Regions from separate parts of the Homo sapiens genome. Here regions 2 and 3 are each linked to region 1. Evidence: promoter capture Hi-C in 16 types of primary human blood cells and fetal thymus (Javierre and others, 2016). All regions are on one chromosome and are shown on one strand. Each heading gives the region's core, a stretch centred on a gene start or on the middle of the fragment in contact. The rest is flanking DNA. Distances are from core to core; before and after follow the strand shown.

Region 1 (2,700 bases), core at 29-2,528:
CCACCCCTTAAACCAGCAGCATATTTGGCAACTTGGAATCTTTTAGCCACACTTGGAACGTCCGTAACATTGAAACAAGAATGCCCCATAGTGTAGTGGATGAGGGGAGTCGAATGGGAATCTCCGTAGAGCTCGCGGCACAATGTACCGCACGGACAGGCGAGCGAGGAGGCGCGCGGGCACTGCGGCCGCCCTCATGCTAGCCCCCGCCCCCTCGCAGGCTCCCGGCCTTCGCCAACCTGCAGGAGGCGCTGCTGGAGAACATGATCCAGAACATCCTGGTGGAGGCGAGCCGCGGGGAGGTGGTACTCACCTCGCGGCCACGCGTCATCGCCCTGCCGCCGTTCTGCGTGCCCAGGTAAGGGCGCCGGGACCAGCGGCCGCGCAGACCGCGCGAGAGGGGCCACGGGGGCAGCCAGGCTCTGCCCGAAGCCTCGCCCCCACGCCTACCTGGGACTTTTTGTCTTCCAGGAGTCTGACCCCGGACACGCTGCTGCCGACGCAGCAAGCAGAGGTACTCCACCCGGTGGTGCCACTTCCTACCGACCTTCCGTAAATGCCCGCGCCCAGCCTCTCCGACATGCCGCTAGGGGTCACGCCTGGCCCCCTCTCCACCGCCAGTAAAAGCATCTAGTCTTTTTTCTGTATCTACCTTGACTTTATTTCCCCGACGAGGGGGAACGCGCGCGCGAGCTCTGAGAGGGAAGGATGGCAGGGAGCAGCCCGGGCGGACTGCAGAGGCGCGGCGGGAACTTAGGGCCCGGGAGGATGCACCTCTCCGCCCACACTGCAGCTGGACTGAGACCTGGCCGCTAGCTGCCGGCCGCTGGACCGGGTCTGGCCAGTGGAGGGCGCTCCGGACGGGGCCTGGCTGGCCTTTGCCCCAGCGCACCTTGGTGCACAGTAACTGAGTGCCAGGCCTGGCCAGCGAAGCAGGTGTCCACTGGGCAGGGCGGCCACCCCTCACCTTTCCGCGCCGCGCCTGCTCGGAGGCTTAGCACCCCCAGGGCCAGCCCCTTAGCATTTGCCGAGCTCCGAGTGCCCAAGAGGCTGGGGAGGAAGAACTGAGGCACGCCGCGGAGGGCCAGGAACTAGGCTGGGGCGGGTCGAGGTCACCACTGGATTTCGGGCCACAGACCCTGCTAAGCGACTCCCACTGTGAATCAGTCCTCAGACGAGGATGGATACCCACCTCTCGGTTCCTCCTAACCCCCGCCCGGGAGCTTCTGTCCTCTGCTTCTCGGCTCCTCCCTCCCAGAGGCAGGTGGGTGGAAAAGTGACATCTGGTGTTGTTCCAGAGGCGCCCAGGGTCCCCAGCACCCTCCCCTCCGCCCCCGCCACCAAGGCCTCGGAGAAGCTCCGGTCTCAGAGCCCGGGCGGGGGAGGGGGGAGCGCTCCGCCTCCATGAGTCAATATTTGCCCCGAGCAAACGGGCGCCTGGACAGGTGTGAGTGTGTGTGTCTGGGGGCGGGGACTGAACAGGCAGTATAAGAGCACACGGAGCCCGGGCTCCGGGACAAGCTCCAAGGCGTGGGCTGGGGACGAAGCCAAGCTAGGCTGGGCCGGGCGGAGGGGCCAGGAAAGCCGGGCGGAGGGTGGCTGGGAAAGGAGGGGCGGGCCAGGTGCGCACCTGCGGTGGCCGCCGCGGCCGCCGACGTGTCAGCCGCAGATGCGTTCAGGTGAGGGCGGAGGCTAGCGGGGCGCTGTGCAGCACTGAGCTCGCGGAAGACCAGGACCAGGAGATCACCGAGGGCGACCGCCAGGCCCCGGGCCCTCCGCTCCCGCCCCGCGACGAGCCCCTCGCACAAACCGGACCTGAGCGTTTTGTTCGTTCGGCTCGCGTGAGGCAGGGGCGGCCTCTCAGCACCAGCCCGGGGGCCGGCCTGATCGCCACGCAGGCACCTGCCGCCGCCACCGCCACCGCCATCTCAACCGTACGGGTGGGAGAGGCTGTGCGCCGCTCCAGGGGAGATCCGGCTCCCATCCGGCCCCACCCGCCCTGCCTTGCCCTGCCCGCAGCTTCTGGGCTGCCAGGCTCCATTCTGCGTCGTAATACGGGCTGAGCCGGCTCCAGCGGGTGGCGAAGGGGGCCGTGGCCCAGAACAGAAACCCTTCTGGAGGTGGAAACCCGGATTCTAGTCCGCCTCTGTCCCCGCGACTTCTATGGCCTTGGGCAAGTCATTTCCCGGCCTCTTGGTTTTCCCATTTGCTCAGTGAACGGTTGGTCTGGCCTCCCGCAGGGGCTAGGCCCTCCCCAGCCTCCTGTCCCGGTTCCTGGGCTCCTGGTCATGCTGGGGAAGATGCAGGCCCTCACGGAGTTGGAGCCAAGGCTGAGGTGTGGAAAATCTGGGCGGGGGAAGCTGAGGGCCACCATGGAGCCTCAAATCCACTCCTCGGATCTCTGTGGTGCTGCTGACATCCTGAGATGTCACTCCCTGACACTCCCTTGGTCCCTCTTTCAGTCTAAAAACGTCTGAGACAGTCAGACTGACTGAAAAGGACAAGCCCCCAGGCACAGCGGTTCACCACCTTCCTCAAACCTCAGAATCCCACATCCTCGCTTCCATCAGCTGGGGTGGGGTAGGTAGGTGGCCCTCAGCTCAGGCAGAGGCAGCCCCGGGAGATGGGAACCAGGGTCAGAAGTCCCTCCAAACTGCATGTTCCTAGAGGTGCTGGATTGTCCCCTCCACCACCACCCGC
Region 2 (2,700 bases), core at 109-2,608, 300 kb after region 1:
TACTTTTTTATCACTCCATAGGTATCACCCCAGTCGCCATCCAGGACACCATTGTCTCTTGCCTGGATTATTATAACAATAGCCTCCTAACTGCTTATCCTACTTCGCATTCTCCCCTACTCCCCATAGCCATTCACAAGACCAGAATGAAGAATGATCCGTTTAGGATGCAAGGTAGTTCATAAAATTCTCTGTTCAAAAGCCTGCAATAGATGCCTCCTTCATTCAAAGTAAGAGCCCAAGTCTTCACCAAGGTCTACAAAGCCTACAATATCTGGCCCCCACCATTACCTTCCTGTCTCATTTCCTACTATTCTCCACCTTCTTTACTCACTTAATCCATACTGGTTCCTCATAGCTCCTCAAGCATGCCAGGCATGCTTTCATCTCAGGGCCTTGGCTTTTCCCCAAAATAGGTGCACAACTCACTCCCTCGCCTCCTTCGAGTCTTTTCTCAAGTGTCACCTTCTAGTGAGGCCTACCCTGACCATCCGACTCAGCACTCCTCATCTCCTTTCCCTGGTTTCTTTTTCTCCATAGCTTTTACCACCTTCCTACATACTATTCTTTTAATAATTTCACTATCTCCCCGACCAGAATGGAAACTCTATGATGGGCACTGTTTTATCTCCTGTACCTAGAATAGTATCTGGCATACAGAAAGGACTCAAAAAATATACATTGAACTGAATTGAGATAATCTGGATAGAAGAAAATTATGGTGCTCCCTAGAAAAATATTATTTTTGCTAAAGTATAAACACTGTGGACAATGAAGATGAGGGTTAAACAAAATTTCTTATAAAAATAAGGGCACTTTACTTGTCTTTCATTTCTAAAACAACTGGAATTTAAGGAAGGACAGAAAGGAGTCTCCTCATTTTATGGATGGAGAAATCAAGGCCCTGGAAGCTTGTTCTAAGCCATCCAATGAGTTAAGGTTTTCCAATGCTTCCAGTTAGATTATAATTCTAACAGGTCTGACTAAAAGCCCTTTCTGGTAAATTGTACAATCTTTAAAATAGCTATCCTTCTACAGCAGCTTGGAGTCCCTACACATTAGAACTCCACTAAATATTAAAATTAGTCACTAAGTCTGAGCAACCTAATTGACCGCTCTGTTGAATCTTACCCTTTCCTATTTCAGCTCCACCGGCCTTGACTTGAAAGTAGGTAACCAAATATAGTTCATCTAGGAAGGGGGAAATTGGTAAAGGCAAGAAATGATATAAATAAGCTGCCAGACCAGGATCTTGTGTGAACACGATACCAGCACCTCCAACACCACATAGAAGCTGAAAGAGGGGTTGAGCCTCTCAACCCTTGTCCTGGGAGCTTCAAGTATGGTGAGGCACAACTTTTATTAAAAGAGTTTACAAACAGAACTATTAAACACACACACACATACACACACACATATACACACACACCCCAAAAAAAGATACACTCTCCACGCCCACCCACAGATAGGAATGTTGGCTAAGGGATAATCCCTCAATAACAGGGACTGATGGCATTGATCCCCACAGCCTAGAGCTGAGACAGGCTCTGTCTTCATCACTGTCCTGGGGCCAGCACGTCTAAGGCAAAAACCTGCTGGGAAGATTAAAGGAGCTCCAGAAAGGAAGAGATCTTTCAGGTTGAGGTTTTTCCCTAAGGTCCGTGAGGCAGGTCCCTAGAGTTAAAGGCACATTATTGGAGAAAAGGCCCCTGGATGTAGAGAAGAAAGGACTCTTCTCTGGCACCAACAGCAATAAAATTTACTGGTTGAAAACATCCTGCATCTGGGAGAAGGAAGAAGCTTTATATATAAATCTCTTCTAGTTTCTTGTTCTCAGTTGAGTTGGCAGCTTATCTCTTTTCTAGTCTCTTTAGCTCTCAGTTGAGTTGGCGGCTTGTGTAGTAGAATAAGAAAGAGCTGGCAACCAAAGTTGGAGGCTGGACCGCAGGAATCTGGAATCACATGCTATGGGCTGGCCTCAGGAGGTGAATGAGTTTCCTGCAGTGTTTGGCAGAGGCAGGCCTAGGACTGCTGTGTGGCAGTGACTGATTCCCCAGAGAGAGCAAGGATAGTTTCTCACTGGCACCCAGGGACACCAGTACCTGTAGGATAGAGAACAGATGATAGAACAGAACATGAGGCTCAGAAATGGTGGTGTCTGGGGCAGGTGCGGAGGACTCTCATTTACCCAGGAATTCCCACTCGAGAAGAGGAAGAAAAAGGAAATGGGCTCTTGGGGACTTGGAATAGACTGAATGGCAGAAGAGAAACCTTGGAGATAGGAATCATCAGGACCAGAAGTCTACTTCCATTCTCTTTGGTTATAGACCATGAAACCAAGGCACTAAGGGACACATATACTTGTCCCCAGGAAGACTTGATGAATGCAGCAGTAACTCACAGTAAGCCAAAAGGTCTAATTCCTAGCCTTCAATGCAGACCAGTGAGTTCTAACCTCATTACCACCAAGAATCCCATTAATTATTTTCCCCATGGATTGCACAAGATTCCTATAGGATCTTCACCATCGGCCAGGCAAGGTGGCTCATGCCTGTAATCCCGTACTTTGGGAGGCCAAGGCGGGCGGGTCACGAGGTCAGGACATCGAGACCATCCTGGCTATCACGGTGAAACCCCGTCTCTACTAAAAAAAAAAAAAATACAAAAAATTAGCTGGGTGTGGCGGCAGGTGCCTGTAGT
Region 3 (2,749 bases), core at 133-2,632, 360 kb before region 1:
TCTTGGCTCACAGCAACCTCTGCCTCCTAGGTTCAAGCAATTCTCCTGCCTCAGCCTCCTGAGTAGCAGTGATTACAGGCACCTACCACCACGCCCAGCTAATTTTTGTATTTTTAGTAGAGATGGGGTTTCGCCATGTTGGCCAGGCTGGTAATGTACTATAATAAAGTGGACATCCCAAGAATGCAGGTTTACTTCAACATATTAAAATTAATTAATGTAATACATTATATTATAGAATAAAGAGCAAAACCCACATGATCTCAATTGATGCAGAAAAAGCATTTGGTACAATCCCAAACCCTTTCATAATAAAAATATTCAACATTCAGAAATAGAAAAGAGCTTGCTCAACCTGATAAAGGCATCTATGAAAAACCCACGGCTGGCTAGGCACAGTGGCTCCCGCCTGTAATCCCAGCACTTTGGGAGGCCGAGGCGGGCGGATCACCTGAGGTCAGGAATTGGAGACCAGACTGGCCAACATGGCGAAACCCCATCTCTACTAAAAATACAAAAATTAGCTGGGTATGGTGGCATGTGCCTGTAATTCCAGCTACTAGGGAGGCTGAGGCAGGAGAATCGCTTGAACCCGGAAGGTGGAGTTTGCAGTGGGCCGATATCGCGCCACTGCACTCCAGCTTGGGTGACAGAGCAAGACTCGGTCTCAAATAATAATAATAATAATAATTTCTTCATACCTTGCATACTTTGCATACAAAGTTGTTTCCCTCCATCCTATGATGTCTAATTGTTTTATTTATGTATACTTATTATAAGTTTTAACCCTTAGTGACCCTAATTTGCTGTGAAAACTAGGAAGCAGGCAATTGTGAACTGCCTGTCATATATCGGCATCTTGTAGTAGATTAGTAAATTTATGAATATACTATTTTATAATTTCAGGAACATATGCTTCCTAATATAGTACAGTCTTTCAGTGTGGCAAAGAACATGCTTATTAGTAGACCCAAATATATTTAGCTTCTCTATATCATATAAAAATAAGATGCCAGAAGTATATACGCTTAAATTTATGCTTAGTAGTTAATGTTTCAGTAGTTTATCTTACTTACAAATGGTTCAGACATTTAATGAATATCTACTGCTTAATTTAACCTAACTTTAAGTTTGCAAGTTACCAAATAAGATTTGGAAACTGATTCAGGCAGACATACTGTAACATCAAACAAAGCTAGCCATCATCTCAAGTTATTTTTCTTGTTGACAAATCAGGTAAGTGTAAAAAATGGCCAGGCATGGTGGCTTACGCCTATAATCCCAGCACTTTGGCATGCCGAAGTGGACAGATCCCTTGAGCCCAGGAGTTCGAGACCAGCTTAGGCAACATGGCCAAACCCCATCTATACAAAAATTGTCTGTCCATGGTGGCATTCTCCTGAAGTTTTAGCTACTTGGGAGGCTGAGGTGGTAAGAATTGCTCGAGCCTGGGAGGTTGAGGCTGCAATGAGCCATAATCATGCCATTGTACTCCAGCCTGGGCAACAAAGCTAAACCCTGTTTAAAAAAAAATAACAGAAGCAAAAAACCTAAAAATTTAAATATATGGTTCTTCTCTGTCTTTTTTTAAAAACTGCTATGCTTGATATGCATCAAGCAATTTATTTTTATTGTATATTTTATTCTTAGTTTAGATTTATAGTTTTATAACCTTAAACATCTAGTTGATATAACATTGTTTGACCAGTAAACCCAGGTAAAATAAAATTGTAGTTCTGCATTCTATTTAATGCTGACAACTCCAAAGACATTTCTGCTTTTATTTTATCAACAATTTTTTTTTTTTTTTTTTTTTTTTTTTTTTTTTTTTTTTACAGAGCCTGGCTCTGTCACCCAGGCTGGAGTGCAATGGAATGGAGCCATCTTGGCTTACTGCAACCTCCGCCTCCTGAGTTCAAGTGATTCTCCTGCCTCAGCCTCCTGAGTAGCTGGGATTACAGGTGTGTACCACCACGCCCAGCTAATTTTTGTATTTTTAGTAGAGGCGGAGTTTCACCATGTTGGTCAGGCTGGTCTTGAACTCCTGACCTTGTGATCAACCTGCCTCGGCCTCCCAAAGTGCTAGGATTACAGGCGTGAGCCACTGTACCTGGCTTTTTTTTTTTTTAATCTATATAAACAAGGTCTCACTCTGCTGCCCAGACTGGATTGCAGTGGTGTGAACACAGCTCACTGCAGCCTTGAACTTCTAAGCTCAAGGGATTCACCTGCCTCAGCCTCCCAACTAGCTGGGATTACAGGCGCCTGCCACCACGCCAGTCTAATTTTTTGTATTTTTAGTAGAGGCGGGGTTTCACCATGTTGGCCAGGCTTATCTTGAACTCCTGACCTCAAGTGATCCACCCACCTCGGCCTCCCAAAGTGCGGGGATTACAGGCGTGAGCCCCTAAGCCCGGCCTACTTTTTAAACTTTTTGTAAAGACCAAGTCTCAGTATGTTGTCCAAGCTGGTTTCAAACTCCTGGGCGCAAGTAATGCTCCTGTCTCAGCCTCCCAAAGCACTGGGATTAGGGGTGTGAGCCACTGCGCCCAGCCTGCCAACAATCTTAAAACTAATTTTATTTACCCAAAAGACTTAACAAGGCCCATGTGTTCAGATTCCTGTCTGTGTCCCCATCTTTGGAGGAAGGACACCTTTCACATGGGGAAAGGATCAGGGAGATCCCTTCAGGAGAGAAGGATCAGGGAAGTCAGAGAGATTGTCCTGCACATGCTGTTTCTCAGATCCT

What was found. Contacts are between HindIII fragments. The CHiCAGO score rates a contact against its expected background, and 5 or more counts as called.
Region 2: a fragment that was not itself captured here is called in contact with the fragment with the promoter of CFAP65-AS1 in region 1 in 2 of 17 cell types (M2 macrophages and M1 macrophages); the score reaches 7.4 in M2 macrophages.
Region 3: a contact is called between a fragment that was not itself captured here and the fragment with the promoter of CFAP65-AS1 in region 1, in 1 of 17 cell types (M2 macrophages). The highest score is 5.6, in M2 macrophages.

What each region holds. Positions count from the first base shown.
Region 1 is chr2:219,000,793-219,003,492 of GRCh38, reverse strand. It overlaps CFAP65-AS1 (CFAP65 antisense RNA 1), which reads right to left and starts at 1,278. Exons shown (of 3, transcript NR_046086.1): 1 at 1,193-1,278. CFAP65 (cilia and flagella associated protein 65) reads left to right here. Exons shown (of 35, transcript NM_194302.4): 34 at 221-358; 35 at 472-647. The coding sequence ends at 556. It overlaps MIR375 (microRNA 375), which reads left to right and starts at 1,785; the gene lies at 1,785-1,848. RefSeq lists an enhancer at 1,212-1,506. The HindIII fragment of the contact is 13,795 bases long and covers 1-2,700 here.
Region 2 is chr2:218,701,268-218,703,967 of GRCh38, reverse strand. STK36 (serine/threonine kinase 36) reads right to left here. Exons shown (of 27, transcript NM_015690.5): 27 at 1,253-2,102. The coding sequence ends at 1,959. Among named protein-coding and RNA genes, the nearest start is that of TTLL4, 8.2 kb to the left of the region's middle. The HindIII fragment of the contact is 889 bases long and covers 914-1,802 here.
Region 3 is chr2:219,364,378-219,367,126 of GRCh38, reverse strand. All of the region lies in intron 1 of LOC105373883 (a long non-coding RNA gene), which reads left to right. Among named protein-coding and RNA genes, the nearest start is that of DNPEP, 22 kb to the left of the region's middle. The HindIII fragment of the contact is 3,139 bases long and covers 1-2,749 here.